Regions from separate parts of the Homo sapiens genome. Here region 1 is linked to region 2. Evidence: promoter capture Hi-C in human tissues and cell types (Jung and others, 2019). All regions are on one chromosome and are shown on one strand. The core of a region is centred on a gene start or on the middle of the fragment in contact, and the rest is flanking DNA. Distances in the headings are between cores, read along the strand shown.

The links. Contacts are between HindIII fragments. The study calls those that stand out against the background at their distance.
Region 1: a fragment that was not itself captured here is called in contact with the fragment with the promoter of UBE2F-SCLY in region 2 in 1 of the 25 tissues and cell types used here (hippocampus).

What each region holds. Positions count from the first base shown.
Region 1 is chr2:238,300,234-238,306,575 of GRCh38, forward strand. No RefSeq gene overlaps it. Among named protein-coding and RNA genes, the nearest start is that of PER2, 15 kb to the left of the region's middle. The HindIII fragment of the contact is 7,342 bases long and covers 1-5,288 here.
Region 2 is chr2:237,964,014-237,969,621 of GRCh38, forward strand. UBE2F-SCLY (UBE2F-SCLY readthrough (NMD candidate)) reads left to right here and starts at 2,932. Exons shown (of 19, transcript NR_037904.1): 1 at 2,932-3,119. UBE2F (ubiquitin conjugating enzyme E2 F (putative)) reads left to right here and starts at 3,001. Exons shown (of 10, transcript NM_080678.3): 1 at 3,001-3,119. RefSeq lists cis regulatory regions at 135-538, 865-1,528 and a silencer at 3,045-3,224. The HindIII fragment of the contact is 7,997 bases long and covers 1-5,608 here.

The DNA.
Region 1 (6,342 bases), core at 368-2,867, 330 kb after region 2:
TATTTCTGTGACACAGATACGCCCACATGGCCAATTTCAAGCTCCCACCATGACCCCCAGTGAAAGTGGTGATGCATGTAGGGCCACATGCATGGAGGGAAGAAGCCTGCCCTGCTTGCCCTGGGTTCAGGCCAACGTGGCCAACCTAAGCGATTCCTTAGAAAATAGAGTTTTGATCTGCCCAGTTACAAGGAGAAATGGAGCTCCCAAAGTTCGACATCTAGAAGACTATTTTTCTAAACTCTTTGTTAGAGGATTTTAAAAGGGGCTGTTCTTACCAAATCTCAATAAAGTGTCCATTGTAAGATATTTCTCAAGGTTATTAAGGCTTCTTATAAACTCCTTTTGCTATAAGTCAGTTCATGTTGGAAGCCAGCCGCAAAAATGATAATTTTGGATTTGTAATCATTGCCATTGAGACATTGTTTGTGGTAGGGACTGGCCTTTCTGTGTTAAGCCACTCCTCCTCTTCGTGGCCTTAAAATCTACCATCAATACAAAGGAGGCTGTTGTCTGCTGAGTGAGGGCCTGGGTAGGGCAGCGTAGCTCTCCCACATATTGATGTAAATCATTAGGGTTCCAGTGGAAGATGCAGGTTCTGTCTGAGTGAGGAGAGCCAGAAGTCCGGGCTGACCTCAGCATTTTAGTCCCCAACTTATTCCAACTCTTGAGGTCAAAGGCCAAGAGGAGGTCCCAGGAAATCTGGGAAGAGTTTGCAGTGTTCCCAATTGTTTCCTGGATGCAGGAAGGGTGAGCGTTGTCAGCCATGGACTTGGTGGGCATGAGACCCTGCTGATCTTTGTGCCTCATGTTGGCCTGAGAAACCAAGATTTGCAATTTGGTTTGAAAAATATGAACTTACCAGCCAGGCACGGTGGCTCACGCCTGTAATCCCAGCACTTTCAGAGGCTGAGGTGGGCGGGTCACCTGGGGTCAGGAGTTCGAGAATAGCCTGGCTAACATGGTGAAACACCATGTCTACTAAAAATACAAAAAATTAGCCGGGCGTGGTGGTGCACACCTGTAATCCCAGCTACTTGGGAGGCTGAGGCAGGAGAATCACTTGAACTCGGGAGGCGGAGGTTGCAGTGAGCCAAGGTCGCGCCATTGCACTGCAGCTTGGGCAATAACAGTGAAACTCTGTCTTAAAAAAAAATGAACTTACCTTATAGAGGAGGTGTATGAATTAACAGATAGGTTTTTAGGGGTGTGCCTTCATGTCAGTGTATATCTGGAAGAAAAACCTGAAGGAATGCCCAAATTTTCATAGTGCTTTCCTCTGGGTGGTAGAATATGGGTGACATTAGTTTTCCTCTTTATATATTTCAGTATCCTTCATATTCTATAATAAGCATTTACAATAATTTACATAAATTATAAATTATATGTAATATACTTTATTATAAGCATTTGATAATTAGAAAGCATAAATATAGTAATGCTATAGACTATTAAATATAAAATAAGAAACCTATTTTGAGCAGGATATTTGGCTTAAAATGGCTTGCTTTGTTAATAGAGATGGAGAACCTGCATAGTAAAAAGCAAAAGCATTAAATTTTTTGTATTGTGAAGTTATTTTTATTTGACTTCTATTCATTTCCAATCTTTGTCTTCAGTAATTAGATATGAGTTTCATGCTATTTTGAACAACTGTTGCTGGAGGTTTACCAAGCTTATGTTTATCATCCAAACCTCTGTAGAGATTATAAACAAATAAAGTAGTCTATAGAGCAAAATTCAGATGATGAAAACAAATAAACCACAGAAAGCAATTCAACAGATACAGACCAGGAATGACTGTGAGGGCAACAAATAGCTAACATAGGAGCTGTGAGCACTCAGATGGGATTGAAGATATTCAATATTTGAGGGCTTTTCAGTCAAATCGGCACAAAAATGCTACAGAAAAGTAAAACATAAAATAATGGGCATGGGCATATCTGTGAAGCAAAAGAAGGCAGAGGTGGCAATGTTGCTAAAAGACAAAGCAAAACATGTGCTTTTCTCGGCCAATATCCTATTCTGACAGCCATAGGAAAGAATGTGCCAATGGAAAGCCCCAGAAGGGGAAATGTAAAAGTGTCTATTTCCATTGGGGTGGAAGGAGGAATGTGTCTTCCTTGCTTGTTTTCTCAGCTCTCCACATGGTCTTCCTGCTTTGCTCAGGTGGACTCCCGTGTTCTTTCTCACTTGGATTAAAAACAATAACAACAACAACTTTTTTTTTTTTTTTTTGAGATGGAGTCTTGCTCTGCTGCCAGGTTGGAGTGCAGTGGCATGATCTCAGCTCACTGCAACCTCCACCTCCCGGGTTCAAGTGATTCTCCTGCCTCAGCCTCTCAAATAGCTGGGACTACAGGTGTGTGCCAGCACATCCAGCTAATTTTTGTAGTTTTAGTAGAGACGGGGTTTCACTATGTTGGCCAGGATGGTCTTGATCTCTTGACCTGCCCACCTCGGCCTCCCAAAGTGCTGGGATTACAGGCGTGAGCCACTGCACCCGGTCACAACAACTTTCTAGGAGTGTCTGCTTAAAGGCCATGTATCTCTGAGATGTGGCGGTGAGGGTCTTCCCAGAACCGTTGGGGCAGTGTGTGGAGGGGTGGAGGGGTCCCTGCTCCTGCTCAGGACTCTGGATGTCGCCCCCAGCCAGGTCACTGTGCCCTTTGGGGCAAGCACTTGTTCAGGTGGTTTGGGCCCTTCCTCCTCTGATGCCCAGAGGCGCCCAGGTTTGAATGTGGGGCTGCCCTACCAGAGCTCATGTTTTCCTATTGATGAAGATGAGGCTGGGCCCTGTGTGTCACCCGGTGCAGACACTGAGTCCTGCCACCAGGACGTCCATCTGTGCTGGACTCATTAGAGTCCTGGCCCTCATGGGATGAGAAACGACGTCCCCTGTCCCCAGCGTTCACTTCCTGCGTCCCCAGCATTCACTTCCTGCTAGCACCTGAGACCAGCGACTTGGGTCTCATGGTGCCTCCCACTCCGGTTTTCCAGCTCCCATTCTTCTTTGTCGTCTCCATGCGCCCGCTCAGGACTCCTGAGTTCTCGAAAACTCAAAACTCATCACACAACTGTCCCTCCCAGGCAACTTTTGATGGCATCCCATGACAGGGATAGTGGAGGCTTTTTTATTTCTAGGAATTAAGTTCTTGTCATCTTGGGCTACAGGTTTAGGGCTTCTCCCCAAGGCAGTTCGGAACTCACTCAAAGTAAGAATCATTTCCCCCTTCTCCCAAGGATGCACTTCACCTGATCCTGTCCAAGGCTTCTCATGGTTGTTTTTACTCTTTTCTCCCCATTTCTCCTCCCTCTCCCCAATATTCAGGACATAAAGGTTTCAGGCCATATTTATCTAACTCCAGAGATGACTTTCCTTTAGGACATCTTATGTCGGCCAACAGAGTGCAGTGGCGTTTGCTGCCTCATCTGAGGAGGGCTCCCTGCAGACCTGTGGGCGGAGCTTCTCCTACTGGGAATTGCCCCTCCAGGGCATTGGAGGGGAGGCCAAGGCCTATGACACCCAGAAAAGCCGTTTCTAGCCCTGGCAGCTCTGTACCAACAGCTGCATGGCCCAGTGTGGGGGGTGTGTGTGTGTGTGTGTGTGTGTGTGTGTGTGTGTGCTATCAGCAGGGACCAGCGTCTTTCACTGGCATCAAAAGACTGACCCATTTTCAGCAACAATATTTTTGCAGCCGACGAAGCCTTTGTTAGGTTTGTATAGGCGACCAGTTGAGCCGGGTTTGTGTTTTAGAGAAGTGGTGAAGTCTTAGCAGGTGGGAAGGAAGCTCGGCCATGGCTCTCCAGTGAACTCCCCCGTCCTTTCTTCCTGGAAAATTTCCAGGACCCCATCTGAAGCGTCCCCTCCCAGGACTGACTCTGGTTTGTCTCTTTGCTGGGTTAGGTAGGAGGAAGGCTAGTGGGATGACCATAGCTGATTTTTGTCATCTACTGCTCAGTCTGGATTCCCCACTTCCTCTGCTAGCACCTCTGCTGCGCTTGGGCACCCACCTGGCAGGAGGACACAAACCCTCATCCCAGCCACTACACGCTCTTCAGGCTGCAACTGCTGTGCTTGTCCATTTCCCACCAAAACTGGGCAGGAGCGTGCCAAGTGATGCCCCAGAAGCCAGCTGTGTGCCAGGGTGATTCTCCTCCACCCCGGTTCCAGCAGCCCTTCCTGCTCTTGAGGATCAGAGCCAGTCACCCCTGCTGGGACACCGACTCCTTTCCTTGCTTGCTCGTCTTTTGGCACAGAGCCTGAGTGACCAGTGACAGCCATCGCTTATTGTCCACTGGATCCCCTGGTGGCAGTGTTCCCCCTCTAGAGAACAGGCCTCTAGACCTGCAAAGCACAACATGGAGGGGACGAGAAGTTCAAATTCACCAACTGGATCCCTGGAGGTCATGGTTGGGGGCTGTTCCTGCTTCTGCTCCTGGGTTCCCAGACCCATGCCTTTCATCAGCTGGAGACAGCAATTTATGATGGTCACTGATTTAGGGTATATTTTGTGTCTTAAAGGATGGAATCCCATCCTCAAAGGGTATTTTCTCCTCAGCAGAGCTAACAAGAGGACCACTCCATCACTCACCCAGATTGGCAGCATCTGAACGGCATGGTAAGGAATGGGCCCAGTGGAGCCCACGGTCATGTACCCAACACCATAGATCCTTTGCTGTAAAGTGAGTCTTTTTGGTCCAAAGCAATGTTATGTGGTATTCTATATCCATCGATCAAACATTTTATAAACCTCCAGATAGTGTTCGTAAGGGCAGGAAAGACAAATCCACACTTGGGATATCCAAATCCACACTTTGGGTCAGTCAAAATGAATCACTGCCTCACCTTTAGGGCAATATAATTGAGTTTAAGTCCAATGTAATCAACCTTCCACCTAGTGGCCAGTTGAGTTCCTCCCGGTGGCACTCTGCTGGGAGCTCAGCTTTGGTGTCTTGCTGTTAAGCTGGATGTTTAGCAGTTGCTGGAACTAACTCAGCCTTGGCGAGTTGGAGGCCATACTGTCAGGCCCACACCATCCTGCAACCCTGCCACCACTGCTACTCACTGAATGGCCTATGACAGAGGCAGGCTGACTCCGAACGGCCAAAGCATCTTCCTACATGGCTGCTGGGTGCCTTTTCCATGGTGGTGCTCTCTGGTGGCTGTTAGCAGGGATACAGAGACCTTCACATGCCTGTCCACTCCCATGGTCCTAGCTGCATGCATGACCCTTCCACTAAACTCCTGGTCCCCAACCTTTGAATTTTCCAGGCCCAGAGCAGCAACAGCCGTCTTTTGCCGCTGTCCATGGGTCTGAACATATTCTTATGCCAAGCCACTTCTCTTTCTACACAAAATGGAGAGCTACGTGTACTGCCTAAGCATGGTGGGCAGAACGGTGGGCCCCCACACACGCCCATGTCTGGAACCTGTACATCTGTTTTGGTACAGGGTAAAAGGGACTTTGCAGATGTCATTACATTGAGGATCTTGAGATGGGAACATTATCCTGGATTATCTGGGTGGCCCAATGTAATCATAAATGTCCTTATAAGTGAAAGAGGGAGGCCGGGTGTGGTGGCTCACGCCTGTAACCCTAGCACTTTCAGAGGCTGAGGCGGGTGGATCACCTGAGGTCAGGAGTTCGAGACCAGCCTGACCAACATGGTGAAACCCTCTCTCTACTAAAAATACAAAAAAAATTAGCTGGGCCTGGTGGCGGGCACCTGTAATCCCAGCTGCTCGGGAGGCTGAGGCAAGAGAATCACTTGAACCCAGGAGGTGGAGGTTGCAGTGAGCCAAGATCGCACAATCGCACTCCAGCCTGGGCAACAGAGCGAAATTCCATCTCAAAAAAAAAAAAAAAAAAAAAAGTGGAAGAGGGAGCCAGGAGGGCCAAAGTCCGAGAAGAAGGCGTGGCCATAGAAACAGACGTTAAAATGATGTCGTTTCTGGAAAGGGTGCATGAGCCAGAGAATGCAGGTAGCTTCTAGAAGCTGAAAAAGGAGAAGAAATGGATTCTCCCCTAGAGCCTCCAGAAGGATTACAGCCCTGACCACACCTTGACTTCAGCCCAGTAACACCCAGTTTCAGCTCTGACCTCCAGAATTGTAAGAGATTCCATTTGTGTTGTTTTAAACTCCCAAGTTTTTGGAAATTGGTTACAGCAGCAACAATGAACTAATACACCAAGTTTCTGTCCATGGGGAGATTGGGAGAGGCAGTCTGTCAGCACTGCCTTTCAGGGAGGCCCCGGAGTGAGGCTGCAGTGCAGCAGCTATCTATTTTTAGGCATTTTTTGCATCCCACACTGAGCCAACCCATGCATGAACCAAGCT
Region 2 (5,608 bases), core at 1,682-4,181:
ACCCTTCCCTGCTTCCAGTTATCCTGCCTTTCCAGACTGAACTAATGTACATGTATTGATTGGTGTCTGCCTGTAACTTCTGTCCCCCTGTTACCAAAAAGGGGTCCTGATCCAGACCCCAAGAGAGGGTTATTGGATCTCAAACAAGAAAGAATTCAAGAGGAATCCATTAGAGTAAAGTGAAGCAAGTATATTAGAGAAGTAAGGAAATAAAAGAATGGCTACTACGTAGGCAGAGCAGCCCCAAGGGCTGCTGGTTGGCCACTTTTATGGTCATTTCCTGATTATATGCTAAACAAGGGGTTGATTATTCGTGAGTTTTCCAGGAAAAGGCTGGGCAATTCCTGGAACTGAGGGGTCCTCCCATTTTTAGATCACATAGGATAACTTGCTGTCTTTGCCATGACATTTGTAAACTGTCATGGCACTGGTGAGAGTGTCTTTTAGCAACAGATACATTATAACTAGTGCGTAATGAACAGTGAGGATGAACAGAGAACACTTTCGTCGCTATCTTGGTTTTGGCCGGCTTCTTAATGGCATCCTTTTAACGGCAAGCTCTTTGTGACCTGTACCTGTGCCAACCTTCTATGTCATCCTGTGACTTAGAATGCCTAACCTCCTGGGAATGTAGCCCAGTAGGTCTTAGCCTCAAGATGGAGTTGCTCTGGTTCAAACGCCTCTGACACCCCTAAAATTTATAAAAATCGAGCTGTAATCCAACCACCTTGGCACATGTTCTCAGGACCTCTTGAGGCTGTGACTCAGGCCTTCGTCACTCATATTTGGCTCTGAATAAAATCTCTTCAAATATTTTACAGTTTGACCTTTTTTGCCAACAGACTACTTAACTTCTGTGTCAGTTTCCTCATCTATAAAATGGGGATAATACCTGTTTCATGGGGTTATTGTTTGGATTAATTGAGTTAATAAACTAGGAAGTCCTAAATAAGTCTTAGTGAAAGAATTAGGCAGCCTCATGAAATGGAGCTAGAAATGACTTCATTCATCCACAGCGGTGGAATTTGGGCCTACGTGGGCCAATGTGTGGTGCAATCCATTCTGCAGACAGTGACGCTTATGAGTAAGACAAGTGCTCACGCCATTCCGGCTGCACCTTCACACACTGCAATCTTCAAGCCCTTATCTCCTCTCACCAGGACTCATGCCGCCAGCGCATGCAATCTCTATCCAGCAGATGTGTTTTAATCACCTGCATGTTCCAGGATGGGAAAGGGGGTGGCAGGAGGTGACGCTGGAGGAAGAAGGAAGAGGAGGGCTGAGGAGCTGAGCTTAGTCAGGGAAACAGGCCATGACAATAAGGAAGAGGGAAGTGCAGGGCTCCAAGGAAGACACAGAGGGCACCTGCACTGCCCCACCCCACCCCCAGGCTTTGAGGCCTATCAGAAGTTGGTGTCTTAGCTTAGGAAAACTTGAGAGTTAGCCGGGCAAAAAAGGGAGAGACATGGTCCCAAACACAAGAAATAACACAAGTTGTGTTCTTTCTTTTTTCTTTTTTTTCTGGAAACAGTCTTGCTGTGTCACCCAGACTGGAGTGCAGTGTCAGCTCACTGCAACCTCCGCCTCCTGGGTTCAAGCAATTCTCCTGCCTCAGCGTTCCAAATAGCTGGGATTACAAGGGCGCACCACCACGCCCGGCTTTTTTGTATTTTTAGTAGAGATGGGGTTTTGCCATGTTGGCCAGGCTGGTCTTGAACTCCTGACCTCAGGTGATCTGTCTGCCTCGGCCTCCCAAAGTGCTGGGATTACAGGCCTGAGCCACTGCGCCCGGCTGAGTTGTGTTCTTGACCAGTTTTCCTGACTCCATTCCCACCGACTCACTTAGAGCCAAAGCCTTTATTATTATTATGGGGACAGGGTCTGCCCTGTCACCCAAGCTGGAGTGCAGTGGTGCGATCACGGCTCACTGCAGCCTCAACCTCCTGGGCTCAGGTGATCCTCCCATCCCAGCCTCCTGAGTAGCTGGGACTACAGGCGCGCGCCACCACGCGGCTAATTTTTTTTTTCTTTTTTTGTAGCGATGGGGTCTTGCCACCATCAGGAGGCTGGTCTTAAACTCTTGGGCTCATGGGATCCTCCCACTTTGGCCTCCCAAAGTGCTAGGATTACAGGCGTGAGCCACCGGGCCCGCCAGCCTCCTTTAGGAAGAAAACCTGATAGTCACTCCACTGTTAGAAACCTCTCAGTGGGGTTTTTCGAAATGAAAGTCTAACTCCTTGTCTCTTTCTGACCGTTTCCATGCTGAACCTCATCTTTCTAATGGCCCACTCCTCCAGGGGCCTGCCTGACGCCCAGGACGGCCCCTCGTCAATCACACAGGACGCTAATGGGCGCGGGATGAATCTGGGCGCCCAAAAGAGGACAAGTTGAAATGGATTTTTAAGGTACTTTAAACACATTTAAGAGAGAAAAGAAGGAATAAAAGGGACATGACAAGAACAGTGGGGCCTGTGGGCGCAGCACACGGTTTGGGGTTGGTCGTGGCTTGCGTGTCTGACCGCCCGGTCTCCCTCACCGCCTGCACTGCAGGCTGCGGGGGCCTGTCCAGTCCTTTGCACTCCAGGTGCGGCGCTGGACAGCGGGAGCTCCAGCCACGGAGGCCGCTCCTTCAGGGAAGGATAGCCCGGGCTCCTCCGTGCCCCTAAACCCTGCAGACCACGAAGTGAACCCGTGTTGGAACCAGGTGCAAAACCCCCAGCCCTCCGGCGCTCGGGCTCCAGAGCCAACTCGGAATCCCCGCCCCTAACGCTACTCGCCAATCAGCGGCGGTTGCGAAATCCGTGCCCGCCCCCTGGCCGCGCCCTCTGCCAATGAGCGAGGTCCGAGAGGCCCGTCGCCCAGCCCAGTCCCGATCGGCGCACGCCGCTGTTCGCGTGTCTGGTTCCAAATAAAGTTTTTCGCGACTTTGAATTTTTTTTTTAAAGCGCCCGCTGCTGTCTCGGCTGCCGCGGGCGAGAGCGGCCGAGTCCCCGCCCCGCCACTTCCGGTCCCGCCGCCGGGAGCCGGTGCGGCTGTGAGGGGCCGCGTCTCGCAGCAGCCGCCCGGACCGGGCATGGTGTTGGGCGCCGGGCCCGCCTCGCCTGTCTCGGGGAGCCCAGGTGAGGAGCGACCGTGCGGCTCTGCGGCGGGGCGAGGTGCGGCCGCCGGTGCACGGGCTGGCCTGCGGGCCGGGCGGAGGGCGCGGGCGGTGGCGGGGCCGCCTCGGGCCCGCCGGGTTCCTCACGCCGGGGGCCTGGCGGGCGCGGGCACCCGGACGCGAGGCCGAGCGGCGTGAATGGGAAGGGGCCGCGGGCCGCGGGCCGCGAGCCGGGGGTCGGAGGCGGCGTCGGCGGCCGGGGCGCTGGCCTCGCCCGGCAGTGAGTGACCGCGGCGGCGGCGGCGGGGGACGGCCCGCGCCGAGCACCTGGTGTGAACCAGGCCCTGGGCCGAGCGTGGCACAGACCTGGCCGCGCTCACGCCCCACTCGCGGGATCGGCTGCCTGCCTTGTACGGAGGAAGCGGGGCGTCCAGCGCCTGGCCAAGGTCACCGGCCCGACGTGGCCGCAGAAACCGGGACTGGACTCCCGATCGGGGCAGGAGTCGCGCTAGGCCGTGAGGAGCGGGGGAGGTGAGGGGAGTGACAACTCGCGCCCGGTCCTCGTACCTGCAGCGGGAAGAGTAAGTATGGACGCTTACCTACAACTGGGGGCGGCCAGGCTAGTTTGGAAAATTTTTACCACAGCAAAGGAGACGAGGAAGGAAGGGCATCTTGGAACAATTAGTGCAGCAGAGTCTTGGTTCCAGACCTAGTTCTGCTGGTGTGTCATCTTGGGTGTGGCCTTCCCCTCCCTGGGCTCAGTTTCCTCATCTGTCACAGGAGAGAATTGGGTCCCCCCACTCTGCATTCCCGACCGCCTGGAAGTGGGGGCAGGATGGGTTGGAATAGCCAGAGAAAGCTTCTTGGAGGAGGAGATGTTGGGATGTAGGTAGGAATCTTCCCCTTAAGGAAGGGGTAGGATTCGTTTGTGAAGGGAAGGAGGGCATTCTAGACCTGGGTATCAGACTGAATAGAAGCTTCTGGAAATGAACAGGGTGTTGTGAAGGAACAAAGAGGAAACTGGCCTGCCTGGTGCAGAGGAATCCTGGCTGAGGAGTGAGATGAAGGCAAGGGGGAGCATAGAGGTGGGAGAGAGAGAGAGATTGAGAGACAGAATCACACCAAGCTTAGTGCTGTGGGGCTTGAGGACCCCCCACCTGGACATACCTGCCTTTCAGGTAGTAGGCAGTGCAGGAAGGGGCAGGTTTACTGCTGAACGTAAAAGGGGCTGGGCTCCAAAGATGGTCGGTCAACCAGCGTACTCCTGTGCCGAGCAGGAGGTTCCTGGGCACTGGCATTCTGTAGAAGAGTGGGATGTGGACTTTGTTGTGCCCTGATCGGGGCCCCTTTGGCTGGGGAAGTTGAGTGTCCCCTAGTGACCCGCAGTCCCATCCTTTATGCTTGGATTGAGACGTCTCCATTCGGAAGGAATTGTAAATAAGTAGCCCCCTCACCTTGAGCTGACTGGCCCCTGGTGTCCCTGCACAAGTGACATGGCCTGGTTTTGCCATTGCTTGCAGGGATGCTGAGTAAATATCACTTGATGGCACTAGTAAGTTGCACACCAGATGCTCTTCTCCGGGCTGTCTGAAAGCAGGTCCCACCCAGAGGAGGAACCTAACTGGGCCAATTACAACTTGTGGAATTTAGAAACTGAGAATGCTGTTCAGAACAGCTGATCTGTTACCGAAATGCTGCCTTAGAGCGTAATTTGCAGGAAAGAGGAAGTTTTGTTTTAAACCAGATCTTCAAGAGTTGAAGCATATTGAAGAAGGAAAAGAATTCTGAAGCAACTGCAGGTATTCAGCTAGCCTCTTGACAGTTTGAAGACTTACTTTTTGATAGAATCCTTTGGTTTAAATTTAATTTTACAGCTATGGCAACATTCCCAAATTAGGCCTTGGGTTTATTCTTAAAGTGGCGTGTGAAAATGATACACACGATAGAAAAATAGATGGTCACTATATTAGATTTCTTAGAATGTTAGAGAAGTACATTTTTTATTACTTTCTATGGAAAACAAAGCACCAGTGTTACATTCTTTTATATCTTGCAAGTCACAGACTTGAAGATAGTAAACCAGCAATCTGACTCTTCAGTGGAATTGAATGTTGGAGCGTCTTCTGCCCACAGAGAAGACTTCATCGTGGCGTGATTGGGGGTATAAAAGCGTTAAGCGTAGCCTGCGGGCTGTAGTGGTGCAGAAGAGTTTCTTGGTGGTTGGCCTTTGAGTGCATGAAGGATCTCTCTCCCCAGGCTTCCCTGAGCCTCCTTCAGGGAGCTGCATGTGGCCCTGGTGCTTGCTGTTCTGTGGGACTCTTCATTCTGACTTTCCTAGGTTACTGCCTGCTGAACTCATGTTCAAGCAGTTGTGCTTTTATTTTTCACTCTTTGCTTCATTTGCATTCCCAAGGTCAGCCAGAGACCTGGTAGTCCTTGTGTAGGGCATCTGGTGCGTCCAGCTGACCCCCAGGTGATGGATGGATGCACGTCTTGGTCCATTATTGGGTG